7 separate regions of the Homo sapiens genome follow, and regions 1, 2, 3, 5, 6 and 7 are each linked to region 4. The links are contacts of gene promoters, found by promoter capture Hi-C in blood cells and fetal thymus (Javierre and others, 2016). All regions are on one chromosome and are shown on one strand. Each heading gives the region's core, a stretch centred on a gene start or on the middle of the fragment in contact. The rest is flanking DNA. Distances are from core to core; before and after follow the strand shown.

What was found. Contacts are between HindIII fragments. The CHiCAGO score rates a contact against its expected background, and 5 or more counts as called.
Region 1: a fragment that was not itself captured here is called in contact with the fragment with the promoter of SLC9B1 in region 4 in 16 of 17 cell types (naive CD8 T cells, total CD4 T cells, activated CD4 T cells and 13 more); the score reaches 14.2 in naive CD8 T cells.
Region 2: a fragment that was not itself captured here is called in contact with the fragment with the promoter of SLC9B1 in region 4 in 17 of 17 cell types (neutrophils, fetal thymus, naive CD4 T cells and 14 more); the score reaches 14.0 in neutrophils.
Region 3: a contact is called between a fragment that was not itself captured here and the fragment with the promoter of SLC9B1 in region 4, in 7 of 17 cell types (naive CD4 T cells, total CD4 T cells, neutrophils and 4 more). The highest score is 8.0, in naive CD4 T cells.
Region 5: a fragment that was not itself captured here is called in contact with the fragment with the promoter of SLC9B1 in region 4 in 16 of 17 cell types (naive CD4 T cells, activated CD4 T cells, non-activated CD4 T cells and 13 more); the score reaches 12.8 in naive CD4 T cells.
Region 6: a fragment that was not itself captured here is called in contact with the fragment with the promoter of SLC9B1 in region 4 in 14 of 17 cell types (neutrophils, non-activated CD4 T cells, activated CD4 T cells and 11 more); the score reaches 13.3 in neutrophils.
Region 7: a contact is called between a fragment that was not itself captured here and the fragment with the promoter of SLC9B1 in region 4, in 16 of 17 cell types (total CD4 T cells, non-activated CD4 T cells, activated CD4 T cells and 13 more). The highest score is 15.6, in total CD4 T cells.

The regions. Positions count from the first base shown.
Region 1 is chr4:102,535,070-102,537,769 of GRCh38, reverse strand. The region is part of intron 4 of NFKB1 (nuclear factor kappa B subunit 1); the gene reads right to left. Among named protein-coding and RNA genes, the nearest start is that of NFKB1-AS1, 34 kb to the right of the region's middle. The HindIII fragment of the contact is 1,895 bases long and covers 445-2,339 here.
Region 2 is chr4:102,605,742-102,608,656 of GRCh38, reverse strand. It overlaps NFKB1 (nuclear factor kappa B subunit 1), which reads right to left. Exons shown (of 24, transcript NM_003998.4): 17 at 1,960-2,161; 18 at 1,338-1,507; 19 at 906-1,008. The region is part of intron 1 of LOC105377347 (a long non-coding RNA gene); the gene reads left to right. Among named protein-coding and RNA genes, the nearest start is that of NFKB1-AS1, 100 kb to the right of the region's middle. The HindIII fragment of the contact is 8,761 bases long and covers 1-2,915 here.
Region 3 is chr4:102,569,840-102,572,539 of GRCh38, reverse strand. All of the region lies in intron 6 of NFKB1 (nuclear factor kappa B subunit 1), which reads right to left. Among named protein-coding and RNA genes, the nearest start is that of NFKB1-AS1, 69 kb to the right of the region's middle. The HindIII fragment of the contact is 5,915 bases long and covers 1-2,700 here.
Region 4 is chr4:103,018,446-103,021,169 of GRCh38, reverse strand. SLC9B1 (solute carrier family 9 member B1) reads left to right here and starts at 1,465. Exons shown (of 12, transcript NM_139173.4): 1 at 1,465-1,571. It also overlaps a transcript of SLC9B2 not described here. RefSeq lists an enhancer at 1,124-1,624. The HindIII fragment of the contact is 6,332 bases long and covers 830-2,724 here.
Region 5 is chr4:102,587,013-102,589,740 of GRCh38, reverse strand. All of the region lies in intron 11 of NFKB1 (nuclear factor kappa B subunit 1), which reads right to left. Among named protein-coding and RNA genes, the nearest start is that of NFKB1-AS1, 86 kb to the right of the region's middle. The HindIII fragment of the contact is 1,389 bases long and covers 685-2,073 here.
Region 6 is chr4:102,516,262-102,519,189 of GRCh38, reverse strand. All of the region lies in intron 1 of NFKB1 (nuclear factor kappa B subunit 1), which reads right to left. Among named protein-coding and RNA genes, the nearest start is that of NFKB1-AS1, 15 kb to the right of the region's middle. The HindIII fragment of the contact is 5,636 bases long and covers 1-2,928 here.
Region 7 is chr4:102,551,246-102,553,963 of GRCh38, reverse strand. All of the region lies in intron 5 of NFKB1 (nuclear factor kappa B subunit 1), which reads right to left. Among named protein-coding and RNA genes, the nearest start is that of NFKB1-AS1, 50 kb to the right of the region's middle. The HindIII fragment of the contact is 3,657 bases long and covers 1-2,718 here.

The DNA.
Region 1 (2,700 bases), core at 143-2,642, 480 kb after region 4:
ATGTCTACTAAATGAGAGAAGAAAAACATGAAACTGTGAAAGAGGGCTCCGTAAACAAGAATCACTTTTCCCGTAATCTTACTACGAAAAATGGTATTAATTGATATTTGTACACTAAGATATGGCTAAAAAGCCAGGTACCTAAGCCCATGGAACCTCTCATGCTATGCATGTGTGGAGAGTAATCTGCTGAAGAGTTTAGGCTTTAGACTTAACATGTTACGGCTTGTTCTAGTCAGAGCTTCCTTGTCTTAAATTGCTGCTGCCAAGCTCTGAACTGTACCATATTAATAAAAGTTATGCTTCCTTGACTCTTACTTAAAGACATTCCTTTATCTACTCTGATTACAGCTGGTTCAGCAGGGACTACAGACATGTTTATTTAGATATACTGTTTCAGCGTTGTAGAACACACCCTGTGCTAGACCCTGCATCTGTTAAGCTTCTCTCAGCATTTCAGAGGATAAGATTTTTGTTTTTATGATTATTAATATGGTCAAGCTCAAGATTGAATATTAACCTACCAGAATGATTCCAAAACTAGGTAGTTCCCTTAAATACTATCTAACCCAGAAATTTTATAGATATAGTTAATTAATGAAGTTAGCTGGAAGCCTTCACTATATAAACTACTGTGGGCTGATAAACACCTAAGAAGTGTCATATTTTTTCATTTGTACAAAAGGGAAGATTATACCAGACCATCTTTAAGGTCTACTCCAGTTCTAACTTTTTATGATTTATAAAGTTAACTTATTCATATTTGTATACAAAGAATAAAACAAGGATAATTATGACCTCATCATCATATTAAGGGAGGTTTCGCTGTATTTCCTGATTCAACTTTATAATGATGTCAATCAATTTGTGGTAGTGTTAGTAGTTTATAACCACATAGTCGCTTAAGCAGATGATTTTCTTTTTACAGATTCACTTTTTGGTGAAAAGAAAATACGTTAAGATTTTTTAAGGAACATTCTCACCTTTTGTTTCTATTGTGGGACCAACTCTGCATATACAGCACTAGATCATCTGCCCATCAGCTCATCACACCCACTAGCTGCTGGTGGGGGTTCACTCCCTTACTCATTAAATTGTGGAACCCCAGCAAACATGCAGATTTTGACAGCTTTGAGCTCATGAACAAATGTAAAACGTATGCACTACTTAGACTATACTACATTTCATTATGCCAAGTAGGGTCTTGCAGTCTCTGAGCAGTCCAGGTGCCTTGAACTGATTTAAATCTCTGGGAAGCATCTGGAACTGTTCCTATATTATCCAAAAACTTCCTGATTTCCAAAGATCAGTCCTCAAACACATTTACCAGATAAGTAAGGCCTAAAGTAAATTCCCCGGTCTGGGAAATTTCCTTAATGCACACAAATGTCTAAAGTTTATGATCAACTCATCACAGTGAGACCTAAAACAATTCCTTGGGAGATTCCAGATCTAAACACAAGGGAAGCCTTTGGAGATGAAGTTTCAGAGGTAATTCCTTTGTTTTGATTCTCACACAATTCATATTTAAAAATAATTTACAATTTCAGCCCTATGCCTTTTGTAAGCAAACACTGTTGGTTTTTTAAATAATTAAATGAAATTTCTAAAACCATGAAAAAAACAACACATGTATAATAGCCTGCAGAATTAGCTAACCATAAGAATAGAGATTTACTTGACTGCTAATTTAAACACAACTTGAGTTTTTGAACAGTATTAGTTAATTAACACTGATTAATATGCAACAGAACTGGATGTTCTAAAAATTAGTAGTCTATGCTATGACTCATCTCCGTCAGAGCTGGGGAAAATCTGTGGCTAAGAGGTCCCAAAGAAAAAAGAATCTTTTTCTAACTTAAAAAAAAAAAACAAAAAAAACCCCAAAACCACACACACACAATTCATTATCTTTAATCACAAAATTCCTTTGGGACAGTTGGAAAAATATAGACACGTATGTGTTTATATCTTATTGGGAGTGGTGTCAAATAGACAATACTTAATAGATATTTTTCATGGTTACATACGAGTATCTAAATCCTCAGAAGTTTTTAATCTGAGGATGAAAATTTACAACTGTTTTCAGGAAGATGTCGTCAAATGCATTGTCTGGATGCATTTCTGATTCTAAATTTCTGAGATCAAAATTTTGCCTTTAATCCACATTCACTCATCTCAGTAACTCCATTTGCTTAAAATGAGTCATCAACCTCAAAGGCAAGGCTACATCCATTCAGTCAGAAAGTCTGACTTGAATACAACCTTCTTACTTTCACTGAATTCAGATATCAAAATAGCATCACTTTGGTAAACACATTGTTTTACTCACATAAGCTTTTATATGAATTAAATTTTGAATTTTGGAACTACATTAACCCTTCAGGTAAATCATAAATGCCAATTTTTCCTTATAACTGTTGGATCCATAATAAGGAATTACATTTAAAAATTCTTATTGTAGTGCTATGCTTATGAAAATGATATTGGAAAAAATACTTTGGCATATGCAGACAAATTTCAGTTGATTTCTGTTTCATAGACTACCTAGATCTTAAAAGCTGGGAAATTTTCCAGGATGCCAGAGCCCACAGAACTTTAAGGGATAAAATTTCACTGGGAATTGATGACCTTCTCTGAGAAATAACTGCTTAAAAGAGTTGAACATGGAGGTAGAGCAATGGAGTGTTACTGGCAACC
Region 2 (2,915 bases), core at 145-2,644, 410 kb after region 4:
CTCTAAAGTATATCAGATATGTCAGGGCAGGCTTCAGATGCCAATTTCATTACACATATTTTGAGGTTCTAAATATGCAAGGCACTGGAGATTCAAAGATCAGCATGGATAATTTTCTATACTTCACAGGACTAGAGAATTAAATGGAATAACATCTGCAAACCTATGAGCAAAATAGGAGAGAGAAACATAGTACAGAGAATAAAGTCTTGAAGTTCACACTGCCGAAGTGTGATTCATAGCTCTGTCACTTACTGGAACCCTGAAGTGGGATCTGGTAGTCTCTCTAGTCTGTTTCCTTGACTCTAAGATGGGGAATAATGGTATTTGTCACAAGGGGTGATTGGGCATTAAATGAGACTGTGCACATAAAGTGCATATCACAGTGCCTGGTACACAGAAAGGTCAATAAGTGCTAGCCATTTTTAGTGCCTTCCACATAATGGGTCTTAATACATGGCCCATTTTCTTTTTCCTACACTTCAATTTCTAAGAGATATTTCTTTCAAAATGAAGTCTTTAAATGATTTCTTATACCAATAATCTTTTTCTTCTGGGGCCTTCTGATATGATCTGAGACTAATACCACTCAGAATTCTATAAGGAATCAAACTCTACTTTGAAAAGACCCTTTGTCATGGGAGTCAATCTAAACAATCAAACCCCAAACAAACAGATGAATCAGAAAGTAAAAACTAAAATGACTATCAGGGTAAAGCCCAAGATTACTAGTCCAAACAGTGCCTTATGGCAGATAAAATGTGATTTGCCATATAATTTTTATTTACCCTTGTTTTTCAGCAGTAGGTCTGTGGCTTAAAGAAGGCAACATGACTGCTCTATTGAAGTTGGGTTTGCATTCCTGGTAACATTTTTCATTAATGACCGCCAGATCACCATCTTACCTGCTGCTTTGAGAAGAGCTGCCAGCCTGGTGGACCCTCTCCCAGCTGCTATATGCAGGGGTGTGGTTCCATCGTAGGTAGTACTGTCCACATGGGCATCACCCTACAATCCAGCCCACACAAGAAAGCGTTAGTGGAAGGTTCTTTTGCCCTTTTGTCCCCACCTCCCAGTGTGCATGGCTCCTTGGGTCCTATTACTAGCCCAATTGCTACTTTGGGCTGGCTCTGTCATTGAAGAAATCCCCAGTTAGAGATGCCAAGCAAGGGGGTTGGGGGAATGTCTAAAGGTGGTACTCTGAAGCCCTCCATAAATGTTAAACAAATAGAGCTGATTGTAAGGGAGAACAGCAGCTACTGACTTCCTTCTTTGAAAAGATTTCCTTAAATCTCCCTCAGAAATTTAATGCAAAAGCAAATAAGTGTGCCCTTCACCTCCAGGAGCAGGCAGCCTGCCAATGAGATGTTGTCGTGCTCCACAGCCAGGTGCAGTGCTGTGCGCCCGGACTTCTGCTCCTGAGCATTGACGTCAGCCCCAGCGGCCACCAGCAGCAGCAAACATGGCAGGCTATTGCTCATCATGGCTAGATGAATGGCATTCAGACCTAGAGTCCAAGCAAAGGGACAGTCACAGGATGGGATGGCTAACTCACAAGATGGCCCTTGTGAAGCTGAAGGAAATGGCAAAAACTGAATCATGGGGAGGGACAGTAAAGATACTATAAGTCTATTGTTCTGCTTTGAAGACCCACAGTCTCCTATTATGTTCTCAGGAGACATGAACATAAATAAACATTCTCTGAATAAACGACGCTTTGTGTACTTCAAGATGAATCTTTACTCAGGCCTCTGCTTTCTCCTCCTACTAACTATTCCAAATCATCTTTAAAAAAATTAGCTTTGGTGAGCAACAGAAATGCCCAAAAGAGATGATGAACTCCAGGTGACTAAGGAAAGCACTTTTGGGTGCAAATCAAATAACACACGTTTATCAAATACCTAGTAGATATTTAGAAGGTGGAGAAAGTTACACCAATGATGTGTGATTGTCTCTTACCGTCCCCGTTGGGGTGGTCAAGAAGTAGTGCTGCCTTTTTGTGCTTGAGTAAGATACTGAGAACTTTATCATGTCCTTCTTTGGCAGCTAGGTGCAAAACAGAGTTACCCAAGCGGTCCAGAAGGCTCAGGTCGGCCCCAGCCCTCAGCAAATCCTCCACCACATCTTCCTGCTTAGTGATCACTGCCAAGTGCAAGGGCGTCTGGAAAGTGAAAGGGCAGGAGATTCACTGGTCAGCAGTGAATACTTACTTACAACTCACAGCTTGGTAGCTGTTACTGCAATAGGTGGGGCCATACTGCAGGAATATTTCTCATTCCCAGATTAACTTCTGACCTTGGCACCCAAGTTATCCTGTTCCATACTATATGCTAATGAAGTACATATACTGTACTAACACTTAGCCATTCAATAATTCATGTTTTAAAATTCTTATTTATCTTAAATTTAATTGACAAATAGTAATTGTATATATTTATGAGGTACAATGTGATGTTTTAATCTAAGTTTACAACATAAAATGATTAAATCAGGCTAAGTTACAAATCCATCACTTCATATACTTACAATTTTTTCTGTGGTGGGTTATTTTCATATTTACAAGTCTTAATAGCTTCTTGTTTCTCACTACAACCCACTGATTGTTGATTTTGAGCACACCTAGTAGTAAATTTAGTTTTCTTAAATATCTGGTAGGAGTTACCTCCAGCTGATAATTTTATATTAACAAATCAAATTAAGGCTATGTTTTCACTGAAGAAATTTAAATAAAGTACTCAATAGAAACCAATTAACAAAAGTGCCATGATTCTATGCTGACATGGAAACTAAATTTACTAAATTAAAAAATACTGTCCCATGGACTGGCTCCTGAGACCAGTCAATATAGCTTTCCTACACCCATTTCATAAAAGGTATTATAAGATTCTAAATAACATAACCAGGATAATACAAGT
Region 3 (2,700 bases), core at 16-2,515, 450 kb after region 4:
GAAGCAGTGTGGTGCTTTTTCTTTTTTGTTTTATTTTTGCCCTTGTAAACTTGCTTATTTTTTATTATACTTTAAGTTCTAGGGTACATGTGCACAATGTGCAGGTTTGTTACATATGTATACACGTGCCATGTTGGTGTGCTGCACCCAGTAACTCAGCATTTACATTAGGTATATCTCCTAATGCTATCCCTCCCCCCACCCCACCACAGGCCCAGGGGTGTGATATTCCCCACCCTGTGTCCAAGTGTTCTCATTGTTCAATTTCCACCTATGAGTGAGAACATGCAGTGTTTGGTTTTCTGTCCTTGCGATAGTTTGCTCAGAATGATGGTTTCCAGCTTCACCCACGTCCCTACAAAGGACATGAGCTCATCCTTTCTTATGGCTGCATAGTATTCCATGATGTATATATGCCACATTTTCTTAATCCAGTTTATCACTGATGGACATTTGGGTTGGTTCCAAGTCTTTGCTATTGTGAATAATGCTGCAATAAACATAAGTGTGCATGTGTCTTTATAGCAGCATGATTTATAAACCTTTGGGTATATACCCAGTAATGGGATGGCTGGGTCAAATGGCATTTCTAGTTCTAGATCCTTGAGGAATCGCCACACTGTCTTCCACAATGGCTGAACTAGTTTACAGTCCCACCAACAGTGTAAAAGTGTTCCTATTTCTCCACAACCTCTCCAGCACCTGTTGTTTCGACTTTTTAATGATTGCCATTCTAACTGGTGTGAGATGGTATCTCATTGTGGTTTTGATTGGCATTTCTCTGATGGCCAGTGATAATGAGAGCATTTTTTCATGTGTCTTTTGGCTGCATAAATGTCTTCTTTTGAGAAGTGTCTGTTCATATCCTTTGCCCACTTTTTGATGGGGTTGTTTGATTTTTTCTTGTAAATTTATTTAAGTTCTTTATAGATTCTGGATATTAGCCCTTTGTCAGATGGATACATTGTAAAAATTTTCTCCCATTCTGTAGGTTGCCTGTTCACTCTGATGGTAGTTTCTTTTGCTGCGGAGAAGCTCTTTAGTTTAATTAGATCCCATTTGTCAATTTTGGCTTTGGTTGCCATTGCTTTTGGTGTTTTAGTCATGAAGTCTTTGCCCATGCCCATGTGCTGAATGGTATTGCCTAGGTCTTCTTCTAGGGTTTTTATGGTTTTAGATATAACATTTAAGTCTTTAATCCATCTTGAATTAATTTTTGTATAAGGTGTAAGGAAGGGATCCAGTTTCAGCTTTCTACATATGGCTAGCCAGTTTTCCCAGCACCATTTATTAAATAGGAATCCTTTCCCCATTTCTTGTTTTTGTCAGGTTTGTCAAAGATCAGATAGTTGTAGATGTACGGTATTATTTCTGAGGGCTCTGTTCTGTTCCATTGGTCTATATCTCTGTTTTGGTACCAGTACCATGCTGTTTTGGTTACTGTAGCCTTGTAGTATAGTTTGAAGTCAGGTAGTGTGACGCCTCCAGCTTTGTTCTTTTGGCTTAGGATTGTCTTGGCAATGCAGGCTCTTTTTTGGTTCCATATGAACTTGAAAGTAGTTTTTTCCAATTCTGTGAAGAAAGTCATTGGTAGCTTGATGGGGATGGCATTGAATCTATAAATTACCTTGGGCAGTATGGCCATTTTCACGATATTGATTCTTCCTATCCATGAGCATGGAATGTTCTTCCATTAGTTTGTGTCCTCTTTTATTTCATTAAGCAGGGGTTTGTAGTTCTCCTTGAAGAGGTCCTTCACATCCCCTGTAAGTTGGATTCCTAGGTATTTTATTCTCTTTGAAGCAATTGTGAATGGGAGTTCACTCATGATTTTGCTCTCTGTTTGTCTGTTATTGGTGTATAGGAATGCTTGTGATTTTTGCACATTGATTTTGTAGCAGTGTGGTGATTTTTCAAAGAGCTAAAAATAGAACTACCATTTGACCCAGCAATCCCACTGTTGGGTACACAATCAAAGGAATATAAATCATTCTACCATAAAGACACATGCATGTTAATGTTCACTGCGGCAGTATCCACAATAGCAAAGACATGGAATCAACCTAAATTCCCTATCAATAACATAAATAAATAAAGAAAATGTGGTACATATATACCATGGAATACTATGCAGCCATAAAAAAGAATAAGATCATATGTTTTGCAGGAACATGGATGGAGCTAGAGGCCACTGTCCTTAGCAAACTAATGCAGGAACAGAAAAACAAATACTGCATGTTCTCACTTGTAAGTGGGAGCTAAATGATGAGAACTCATGGACAAAAAGGGGAACAACAGACACTGAAGAAGGCCTTGTTTCTCCTCTGTATTTTGATATTTATATATCTACTCCTAGTGCTTACCAGTTGGTATATGCTATATGTATTAATTGGAAAAAAATTCCATGTCTCTAAACTGCCAGAAAGCAGAGAGAGTGTGGTGATTACTGGTAAGTGAACTGGCCTAAAGCAAAGTCAAGGAACACAGATATTTTCCATGGAATAAAAATGTCAACGAACTAAAATATGTTGAAACAAATTGTTGATATTCAGGGTTTAAAATAAAACACCAAACTAAGATTATTATTATTATTTTTTACCAAGAAAGGCAGTAAAGGCTAATTATATAAATGAATTTTAAAAAAGACAAAATTAAAGCTAACTTAAAAAATATTAAAATGACAAATCCCCTACATTACAG
Region 4 (2,724 bases), core at 216-2,715:
AGACTCCTAGCAAAGGTCTTCCTTCCCAGGTTTACCATTTGTCCCAACTCCCATTATCTTTAGGGATCTACCTGCTTTTCCTGTGAGTACAAAACATTTCCTTTTCATGAGTACAAAACATTTCCTTAACCCTATAATCATGAAACCCTGTCTACTCTCCTGAAACGAGGAAGAAAAATAAATCCTTGCTGAGATGTCTATAACACGTTGAAGGAGGGAAGGTGTTAAAAACAATAAAAAGGGCAGGGCTGTGGTGGCTCACGCTTGTAATCCCAGTACTGTGGGAAGCCAAGACGGGCAGATCACTTAAGTCCAGGAGTTCAAGTCCTCCTGGGCAATATGTGAAACTCCTCTCTACTAAAAATACAAAAATTAGCCGGGGGTAGTGGTGCCCACCTGTAGTCCCAGCTACTCAGGAGGCAGGAGGATCGCTTGAACCAAGGAGGAGGAGGCTGCAGGGAGCCTAGATCGCACTGCACTCCAGCCGGGGTAATAGAGTGAGACCCTGTCTCAACAACGTCAACAAAACCAATAAAAAGATAATTTCGTATTTAAGTTACCCAAGAAGGAACGGTAATTTGGATCAGATCTTAGATGATGACTAAGAAAAAGAACACTCCGGTAGAGGAATTAACTTTACAGAACGCACTGAGGCAAAAAGGAATACAGTGTTCAAGAGTAAACATTGAGTGTCAGGAGAAACATTAGATAGGAAAGGGCAGTTTGTCTTTCTAAGAAGTTTACACTTTCTCCAATAACAGTTGTTTTTGTCTTTTATAGGAAGCGCGGATTCTATTACTGGAAACTTTGGGACTGAAAGGCCAAAGCTTCTGGGCCCACCATCAACGCAGCTCCGCTTTCATTTCTTTCACATACAACTTTCCACATAAGATTTCATGCGGAAAAAAAAAAAAAACTCACAAAGGTTTTATACTGATAACAGTATATTAAGTGTTTACTTTGTACACAGCGTCTTTGTTCCAGACACTTGCCATGTCTCATTTATTCTCACACCACCACCACAGCGTCCTTTACAGATGAGAAGACAACCTCAGGGAGACGATGTATTTGCCTAGGTCCCATAGCTAGCAAGTGACAGCGCTGCAGTTTAAGCTCAGGCCGTCTTGGGGAGAGACCGTGCTCTTCTACCATTGCACTTTAAGCTGACTTTAGGGGAAACACAATCTGAGTTTTGACAAGTTTACTTCTGGCACATGCAGTCCCGAGCACTGCTTTTTGGCTAAAATGCCCAGTGATGTCAACTCTGTCCCTGGATTTCTACAACCCGATGAGTCAATATTCAGAAGAGACGTCGAAAGGAAAGGGTTCAATAGACAGAAAACACACCAGACAGTCCCAGAAACCCCAGAACCCTCGCCTCTGCCGGCGCGGACAGCCAAGACGTCACTTAAACGCGCTGCCGCCTCCTCGCCCCGCCCCGCCCCTGCGCGGAAGTCTATCCGGGCTTTCGCGTCACCACCCTGCCCACCTGGGTGGCGCGTGGCTTACGCAACGGTCACTGGGCTCCTGGGCCGCTCCCGGGCCAGCGAGGGCTGCGAAAGAAGTTGTAGGTACGGCCCATTTTTCTTAACGCCGCCCTTCCAAGCCCTTTGGCGCTAGTCCCGGGTCTGCCGCGATCGTTTCCTTGCGGTAGGCCGCAGGAGGGCCTTTCCTCCCCCTCAGTTCAATGGGATTCTTGGGCTCTTCTCCCAGACGCTGAGGGAACAGCCACAGACATTGTCTCTCCTCTCCGTGACTCCTTTCCTTACTCCGTCATCCCACATCTCTCTTGTTTGTTCTCTTTTCCTCCTGTTTTTCTTATTTTACAAATACTCGCCAGTAAGAAAGAAGAGATCTGTCAGTTAAGATTGACCTCAAAATTAATTTTATTAAGCGTGTACTATTTTACAAACGGTGGATCCCTGCAAATAAACCTTCACATACATGCTCCTGCGACTGGAGATTCTGGGATTGGTTGCCGATCCTGAGAAAGCTCTCTTCCCCCACCCACCCACATCCACGCCCCTTAATCCTGTTTACTCCTCTTGGCTTTAACCCAGGGGACAAGCACTTCCAGCAGTCCCCAACCTTTTTGGCACCAGGGATCAGTTTCATGGAAGACAGTTTGGGGTGGGGGGCAAGATGGGATGACACTCTTCTATCTCAGATCATCAGGCATTAGATTCTCTTGAGAAGGCGCAATTTAGATCCCTCACATGCGCAGTTCATAATCAGGTCTGTGCTCCTATGAGAATCTAATGCCTTTGCTCATCTGACAGGAGCTGGAGCTCAGGCATAATCCTCTAGCCCTGCTCACCTGCTGTGTGGCCTGTTCCTAATAGGCCACAAACCTGTACCTGTCTGCTGCCCAGGGGTTGGGGATCCCTGCTTTAGACCAGTGCTTTTGAAGGAAAAAGGAAAGTTGCACACATACTGTGTCTGTCACATCAATCAGTAGTGTTACAAGAGCTCTTCACGGGACCATACCAGGTCCCTCACTCCCCCTCTATGGGTGTCCTAGAGCCTGTGAAATAACAGATTTGGTGATGTGGGGAGACAACTGGCCCAGGTGGCACTGAGGGAGGCCACACCCCACTCTCTGATTTTCCTTAGAGATAAATATAATTATGTGTGCAACAGAAGCATGAAAAATGACACTTATTATTGTCACCCCTAGAGAATTCATGCCCCAAATATTTTAGTCACTGTGTGCCTATGAAAAGG
Region 5 (2,728 bases), core at 130-2,629, 430 kb after region 4:
TAGTGCTGAACCCTTAACAATTATTCTATTTCTGATTCTTCAATGTCAGTTTTGTCATGCTTATGTTCAGAAAGAACTTCGATTATTTCTAATTCTGTGGTTGTTTCAGTCATCTTAGGGCTAGATAGAAGGTCTCTGTTTACTGATTATCTCATGATCATCTAACTGCAGTTGAAAGATGAAGCAGGGGAAAGCAGGGTAACAAAGTACACTTTAATAGTTGTTTAAAAGCTGAGCATCTCCAGACTTCCCAGGAAAAAAAAAAAACCAAGGTTGCCAAATTTTGAGAAAAATATGCTTCCACTAGAAGGGGATGACCTTTAAGTGGAGAAACTTTGACTTACTTATCAAATATGTTTTAGATTCAGATTTATAATTTCCCCATCGGTTCTATCTTAACTAATTTACAGCTATACTCATTACTGTTCACTGCAGACATATGAAACACAAGAGGGAAGCAGGCAACTTATTTATCTTCAGAAATAAATGTTATCTATTGACATGGATTCCAGCAAAGAGACTAGTTAGTATTTTCTATGTATTCATTTTACCTTTTAAAGCAGAGAGATATTTATTGGCTGTATTTCACTGTAAAATGGGAATTTTAAGGGCAAAATATTAATTATAACACAGCTAGTAAGATTCCAATGACAAGAAACTGATACAGAACATTCCACATAAGCTTTATAAAAGAACCTGCTGTTTGAATCTCCACAGAATTGAATATGGAGACTTTCACACTCCATATTCAAGGGATCATTTATCCTTGCGGTCTGCTTTTGACAATGGCACCATGGGATGTACTATGAAACATCAACCTATTTTAGAAGGAACCAAAGCAGCCACTTACTACAAGTTCTCCTTTTGCAGGAGAGGAAACTGAAGCTAGGAGGGGTTAGGTGACTTATCTGAGGTCACAATGGAGTCAAGATCAGTCTCAAAGTGCAGTGATGTTTTCATTATGTTAGGCTGTCATTCTTTTGAAAACACTCCAAAATAGCTTTGTATAATAATAACCAGTGACTTTAATAATCAATGACTTTACATAACAGTTGATGACTTTAGATAATAGTTCAATTCACAAATATGGATAATCTCCTAGTGTTTGCTACCTATTTCTGTGCATGTGCCTTAAAAGTACCTCATTCTCACTTTTCAGGTTTTAGTTTACCAGTAAAGGTGACTGCATTTATCTTGGCCATACCTTTCATAATTTAAAGATTATTTATCCCTAATCTCCATCTTTCAGACTGAAAAATCATTATGGTCTCTTTTATTTTTTTTTTATTTTTTTTTGCTTTTGTACAGCAGTTCCTCAACTATCTTCCTCCTCTGCCAATCATCCTTCTCTTGATTATTTCGATCGTCTCCCCTGGACCCAACCATCTCCAATAATTTTTTGTGAAGTACAATGTTGATGACCATAGAGGATGCAAAGCTCCGGGCTGGTTCTGTATGATGCTTTATATTTATGTATAATGTCTTACCTGATGATACCCAACATATTACTAGCCTTATAGATGAGGATGGATGGCAGCTTGGCTGGTCAATCAATAAGTCAGTCCACAGATATTTAATGAGCATTTTCTATGCAACTTATACTGTTCTAGATAGTCTATGACCTAAAGAAGATTCTTTGTACTCGGGGTGGTAGGAAGACAATAGACCCATAAATAAATAGATAAGACAGGTTTACATATTGATAAAAATAATGAAGAACATAAAATTAGGCAATGAGATAGGGAATGACTACAGAGACTGGGGGTAAGGAAAAGTGTGTTCAATGACTTCTGAGAAATGTATGCAATGTTTCCCTGGGTTGTACAGTTTGGATCCATTTCTATCTACTTACTCTAATGCTAAATGGCCTACTACTTTTCTGACCAGTTATATTGCCTGGTCAGATTATTTCTCCTTGGTCCTATTATCTTGAGTTTTTATAATCCAGAAGGTTTCTATAGAATCAAGTAATTTGTTGTCCTCATATATATATATGTTGTCCATTCTTTCCTTCAGAGCTCAATGGGTAAGTATTTCTCCAGACAGTTCTTAAACTTTGTATTGTATGAAGCTTTTCATCAATGACAGCCTGGAAGGTAGGTGCATGAAGCATACAGGTGCAATTTTGAACTTTCAGGTGACCCCATTCTCTAATCCCTGCATTGGATAGTTCCTACTATGATAACGAGGCATTAAAGTAATCACCTGAATATACCCCCACTATAACATACTTTTCTGAGGCATAGATACCACTGGGAAAGGGAGACAGGCAGCCTAGATACCAAGCTGAGCTTTGAATGTTTCTAGGTTCATACACATACAGGTAACCTGGGTTTTCTTTCTTCATGATTCTCTGTGTTAGCAAAAACTGGCATTATTTGAAGACATATTTCTGGAGAAGAAATCTATTTTTTTCCTCAGAAAGTCTAAAAAAATTATCCATATTTTTCTTCTGTGTCTACTTTTAAAGAAGGGTGTTTAAATTAAAGCAGTGATTTTCACATCATTTTGTGTAGGCAGAAGCATTCAAAAGACCTCCAGCAGCTCCTGATAGGGAAGTAAGGAGAGGTGGGACAGCCTCTCGGAAGGCCGAGCTGGCAGGGCCCTTCACCCCTATTTTAATCAAAGCCTACCATGTCCATACACTGGGATTTTGTATGAAATCTCATGTGAAGAAAGAAAAGTTATTGTGCTGACAATGTTTTCAAACCACCAGGATATAGAGTGC
Region 6 (2,928 bases), core at 363-2,862, 500 kb after region 4:
GAATGTTTTCCTTCCTTCATTAATTTAGTCATTCACCTAAAAATATTTATGCCTACTATGCCAACAACACCAAAGTGCAAAAGAGTGATGCAGTTCCTGTACTCACAGAGCTTACGGTTGTGGCAGATTGAAATCAATGGCCACACTTTTTTTTATATGCCACTCAACAAGAGGAAACATCTATTTCTCTGTGCTTTGAGTCTTGGCAGACCTACGGACATACTCTGACCAATAGGAAGAGGTAGAAGTACAAGTTCTAAACCCAGCTTATAAGAGGCCTTGCAATGATCATTCTTGCTTTCTTGGAACATTGTTACCATGCAAACAAGCCTGCACCAGCCACTGGAAAATCAAAGACCATGTGGAGCACAGACAGGCAGTCCTAGCTGAGGCTCCCTAGCACCAGCTGAGTAGCCAAAACAACTTCAGACAAACAGCAGTAGGGCACCAGCTGAGTAGCTACAAACAGTACCAGTCAAGTAGCCAAAAGACCTCAGAGATTAGCCAAAGCAGGCCAGGCCAGATGAACTAGGCAGCCCACAGAATTGGAAGAAGTAATCAGTATCTTTTAATTTGCTTTGTGGTGATTCTCCTTTTTTTTAATGCAACAAAAGCAAACTAATTCAACAGTTTAGGAAGTAGGAAGGCAAATAGGCAAAAACAATGCAATATAATATGTGTCATGGGAAATGGAGTATATGTGGGGTATGGGTTAATTATCTTGGTAATTCAGTGATCACACTTTGTTAGAGTTCTAGTCAAAGCCCACTTTGTACTCATTTTTTTACTCTATTAGTTTACTCAATTCCCAACTGAACAAAAGAGGCAAGTATAGTAGCCAAAACACTGTGGTGTATACATAAAATTAAAACTGTTAAAACTTTCAGAGTGCAAATATTAATAAATCACTGTTAGCTTTAAGCAGTGATACCTTTAAAACAAGTTAATGTTTTAAATCCCTTCACCTCTCTATCTAAAAGCAATTTCATCATTCCTGCTGCAATGAGCCCCATTTTTGACTTTGCAATTTCTGCCAATATATCATTTTCACACATATCTAGTCAATAACCAATTTCTGCTGATTATTTTCTTCATGTTGTTTCTTGGATCTGCCCCTTCTTTCCAACATCCTAGGAGAGACCTTTATTGCTTCACCTCTGAATGACAGTAATAGGCTCTGTACTGTTCTCCCTCACTGCAGGGTTTCTTCCTCTTCAAGAATCTTTCACATTATTGCCATATTACTTATAAGATAAAGTCCAAAGACTTCAACCACTCAGCACATTACATTATTATATTAAATCATATTATAAGCATCAACTACTACTATGTCCTAATCAAAACCCTCTATGATAGACAGATTAATCATTCAGAATGACTTGCTCATTTCCATCTTGTACATTTGTTCACAATATGCCCTGCATCCTGAAATGCCATCTTTTCTACCTCAATAGCATCCACTCTTCAAGGCTCTAGTTAAATCCAATTTCTGCCAAGAAATCCTATATTTTTCCTATAACCTATAGCTCTGTAGTCACATAATATCTATAAAACTTATATATACTGGTGATTTAACACTAGACAGCATAGTTTTACTGCAATCTAACTTTACCTATATATTTATCATCTTCTCAAATGGATAGAAGTTCCTAAAAAGTAGAGATGGGAGTTTTGCTTTTTTGTATTGGCAAATTGGAAAACACTGGTTTTTTTGTTTTTGTTTTTTAAGTAATACTGTATTAATTTTAAGAAGCACTGCAATTTCAAGTTTGTCAGAATGTCAAATTCTGGTTTTAGTTATCACAGATTAACAGTTATCTGAACCTCCCTCCTTGCTATACTCAACTGTGAAACCATACAAAATACCTAAAGATGTAATTTAAGACATTGGACTTCATAGGGCTATATATTATAAGGTGATTTAGGTAAATTCTAAATTCGCCCTCACTTTTTGACTGAGGACACTTTCCAAATCATGACACAGGGAGAGCCCAAAGAGAGAACACCAATGGGCAGAATATCACAAAGAAAGGCTTTACACAAAAAGCAAGAGCCTCAGAAATCTACATAGGGGTCATCTCTGGTCACTGGCCAAATACCAAGCTGTGATAGTGTAGGACAAGACCCTGCAAAACCTAATAGAAAACAGTTTCTGGGCATCTAAGAGCTAAATGGAAATTCCGGACATCATATAGTGCTGAGAGACACTGAATTTGTAATAATCCAGGGTGGAAAGACATCACTGAACATTGTGAGCATTCAGTTGTGATTTCAGAAAGACCACACGATGGGAGTTAGAAACATCCTAAAATAAGGGCTACTCTAAACCTATCTTAATAAAACTAGGTGATCCACCAGTAAATTCACTGCCTGTTACAACAAAGCTCAACACGTTTTAAAGGAAGACAAAAAACCCAAACTCTCCACAATGTACAATAAAACATAATGAAGCCTGCAAAGAAATAGGAAAATAAGACTGAGAAAAAAAATGACACAAATGACAAAAATAGCTAATAGCATATGGTCAATAATGTAAAGGAAAAGATGAACATAATGAGAGAACAGATAGGCAATATCAGCAAAGAAATGCATACCTTTCTTTTAAAAAAAAGAATGGAAATTTTAGAACTGAAATGAAATTTCACTAGATGGACTTAGCATATTTAACATTATAGAAGAAAGTACCAATAAACTAGAAGAAAGGTCAATAAAAACTACCCAAACTGAATTACAGAGAAAAAAAGGTAGAAAGAAGTGAACACAGCTTCAGTGACCTACAGGACAATATTAAGCAGTCTTACGTATTTGTAACATAGAATCCCAGAAACAGAAAAAAGACAGAAAAAATATTCAAAAAAATAACAGTTGAGAATTTTTATAAATTTGATTTTTAAAAAATCAACCCACAGATCCAAGAATCTCAAAGAT
Region 7 (2,718 bases), core at 209-2,708, 470 kb after region 4:
AATTGTGAACATTTTAAATACATTTCACCACAATTACAAACTGAGAAAACATACAATCAACACTCAAATTACCTGTTGCAATGGGACCTCTGATAGCATGGAAAATCAAAATTTAGAGACAAAGAAAAACCTTCATGTTAGGCAAAGATTTCAACTTTTGTCATTAAAACTGAGACTGAGTACCCAAAGTGTTTATTTTCAGTAAATCCAAGGAGGGCCCTGCCCTGGGTAGTTAAGTCCTGATAAGAATCTGTGTGTTCTGAGGATATGTCAGAAATGCTTCAATTACATAAGTGGAGAGAGAAAAAAAGACACGCAAACAAAGATACACTGAGAAATTTTAATCTAAGAGATTTTTTAAAAATCCTAATAACATAAAAATAATTAGAGGAAGTAGAACACATTAGATATGATCAAAGTGTGTCCAAAACAAAAATTCTAGGTTTCTCATTTATTCATTGAAAATAGAAATTATTAATGTAAATTTCTAACATTCTTTTAAAATGATTTTAAAGTCTTTAAACACATTGTTTTTGACTCAAATTTAATTTAAAATAATTAAGAATATCTCTGACTCTGTGATATCCAAATTTACTTGGGATTGAATATCACTGATTTCTTTTTTCTTAAAGGTATACAACCACCCTCATTATGTATTTTTCTTGCTTAGAAAATCTATTTTATCACTTTCACTGAAACCCACTGGCTAGAGAAGCAATTAGGTTCTTAATTATTGAAAATACTTAGAGACATCATTCGGTGTAGAATCTCCTTTGTACTACAGTAAATACAGCTGCCCTGTATAAAAATTTGGACCATGTTGGGAACAAAGCCAATTAACTGTCCCTTTCTTCAGAAGGAAAGTACATAAGATAAAGAGCATTTCAACTATTCTATTGTGATTTCCTGTGGAAAGCCCCTACTAAATTAAGAGAATTACAAGTGAGTAGAACTGGGAAATTTTCTTTGATTTCTTGGTGCTACTTTACTGGTCTTTTTACACTCTAGACATTAATAGGGCAAAAGAGAACACAATCTAAGTGTCAGACTGAGGTTAACCAAAATATTGTACCATCTACGTACTATGATGTAAACAAAAGTAGGAAGGGGGGAAACACCAAAGTTTCTCAAAGTTCTAGGATCAGCCAGTAATTTGGAAAAATGGTAGTACTTTAAACCTGCAAAAAAAACCCTTTTATGTCTTAACTTTATGTTGTTCAGCCTGTATAAACTGACTAAACACAAAGTATATGAAGTAAGTTATACATTCTACAGCTTGGATAAAGTAGTGTGTAAGCTATTAATTTCTATTATTTTGGGGGATCTGTCAGAAAATTGTAATTGTCCTATAACCAAATCTTGATTATCCCTTGTTACAGATTTATCAAGTTAAGTAAACATCTTTCTAAGGGCATACAAATAAAAAAGAAAAAAATTACTTATTGTAATACAAGTTAGCTTCCCTGCCCTGTAGTCTTCCTGGTCATTTTTGAACCAATTCAGTGACAATGAACTCACTTTGTCCTGAGGCAATACATTCCATCCTCAGACAGCCCTGACTGTCAGCAGCAACTGAAACCTCTATCGCCTGGGGCTTCCATTCACCGCTCCTTATTTCATCCTCTTGTGACAACAGGACACATTTAATCCTTTTTTCCCCATCACAGCCATTCATATATTTGAAGACAACCAAATCCTCCAGGCTATAAATTTCTCAGGCTCAGTAACTACTCCTCATTTGAATGAAGTTTGAGTTCTCTCACCATTCTGCTCTGAAGACACTCAAGTTGGTTTCTATTTCTCTACAAATGTGGTGCCCAGCAGTACTACACTGTATTCCTGGTGTGGCCTTTCATCACAGAGTGCAAATGAGACCACCACTTCCTTGGTCTTATGTATCGTGTTTCCATTAATGCAGCCTAATGAGGAATTACTTGTTTCGTAGTCACATTGCATTGCTGGTTCATGTTGAGTCTGTTATTAACTAAAACTCCTAGATCTCTTTGCATGCGTTGCTGCTAAATCATCTCTCTTCCACTCTGTACTTGTAATTTGTTTTCTGCATGTATTTATATCTTTTAAATATAATTGCTGAAGAATTGGGTCCATTGTCTCAGCTTTCAAAATTAATTTGAATTCAAATTGTTTGTTGTCTATCACTTCATGTCACCTGCAAATTTAGTAAGAACCTTATAGGGCTGTATTCAGGACAATGATAAAATATATTAAAGTGTTTGGTGAAAGATCCCTGGAACCTATCACTAGAAATATCTCTTCAGGTTGACATCACCAGCATGGGAGATGCTGTGAATCCCTGAACTACCAAAACAGGGATCTCCAGCATCTCACTATCTCACCCTTGTAGAAATCCTGTCATAGAAGACAATGATGTAGGTTTGGTGTGATTCGTTCTTCTTACGGTGACTGAGATAGCAGCTCTCTAGTTTCTAGTTTGAGAAGTACACCTGTCAAATTCCACTTGCATTCTATCACAAACAGAGAAGGGAGAGACTATCTAGCCAGGAGGTGATCTCAAGGAGGGTATATTTTCTCCCAGTCCACCTCAACACACACACACACACACATGCGCGCGCGCACACACACACACACACACACCAATTTAGAATATCCTTTGAAGAGGGATTCCTCCAGCAAATCCTGAGTAATACCCTGATTACTCTCTCACACATGTCTGTATCTTGGCTGTGGTGCCATGTA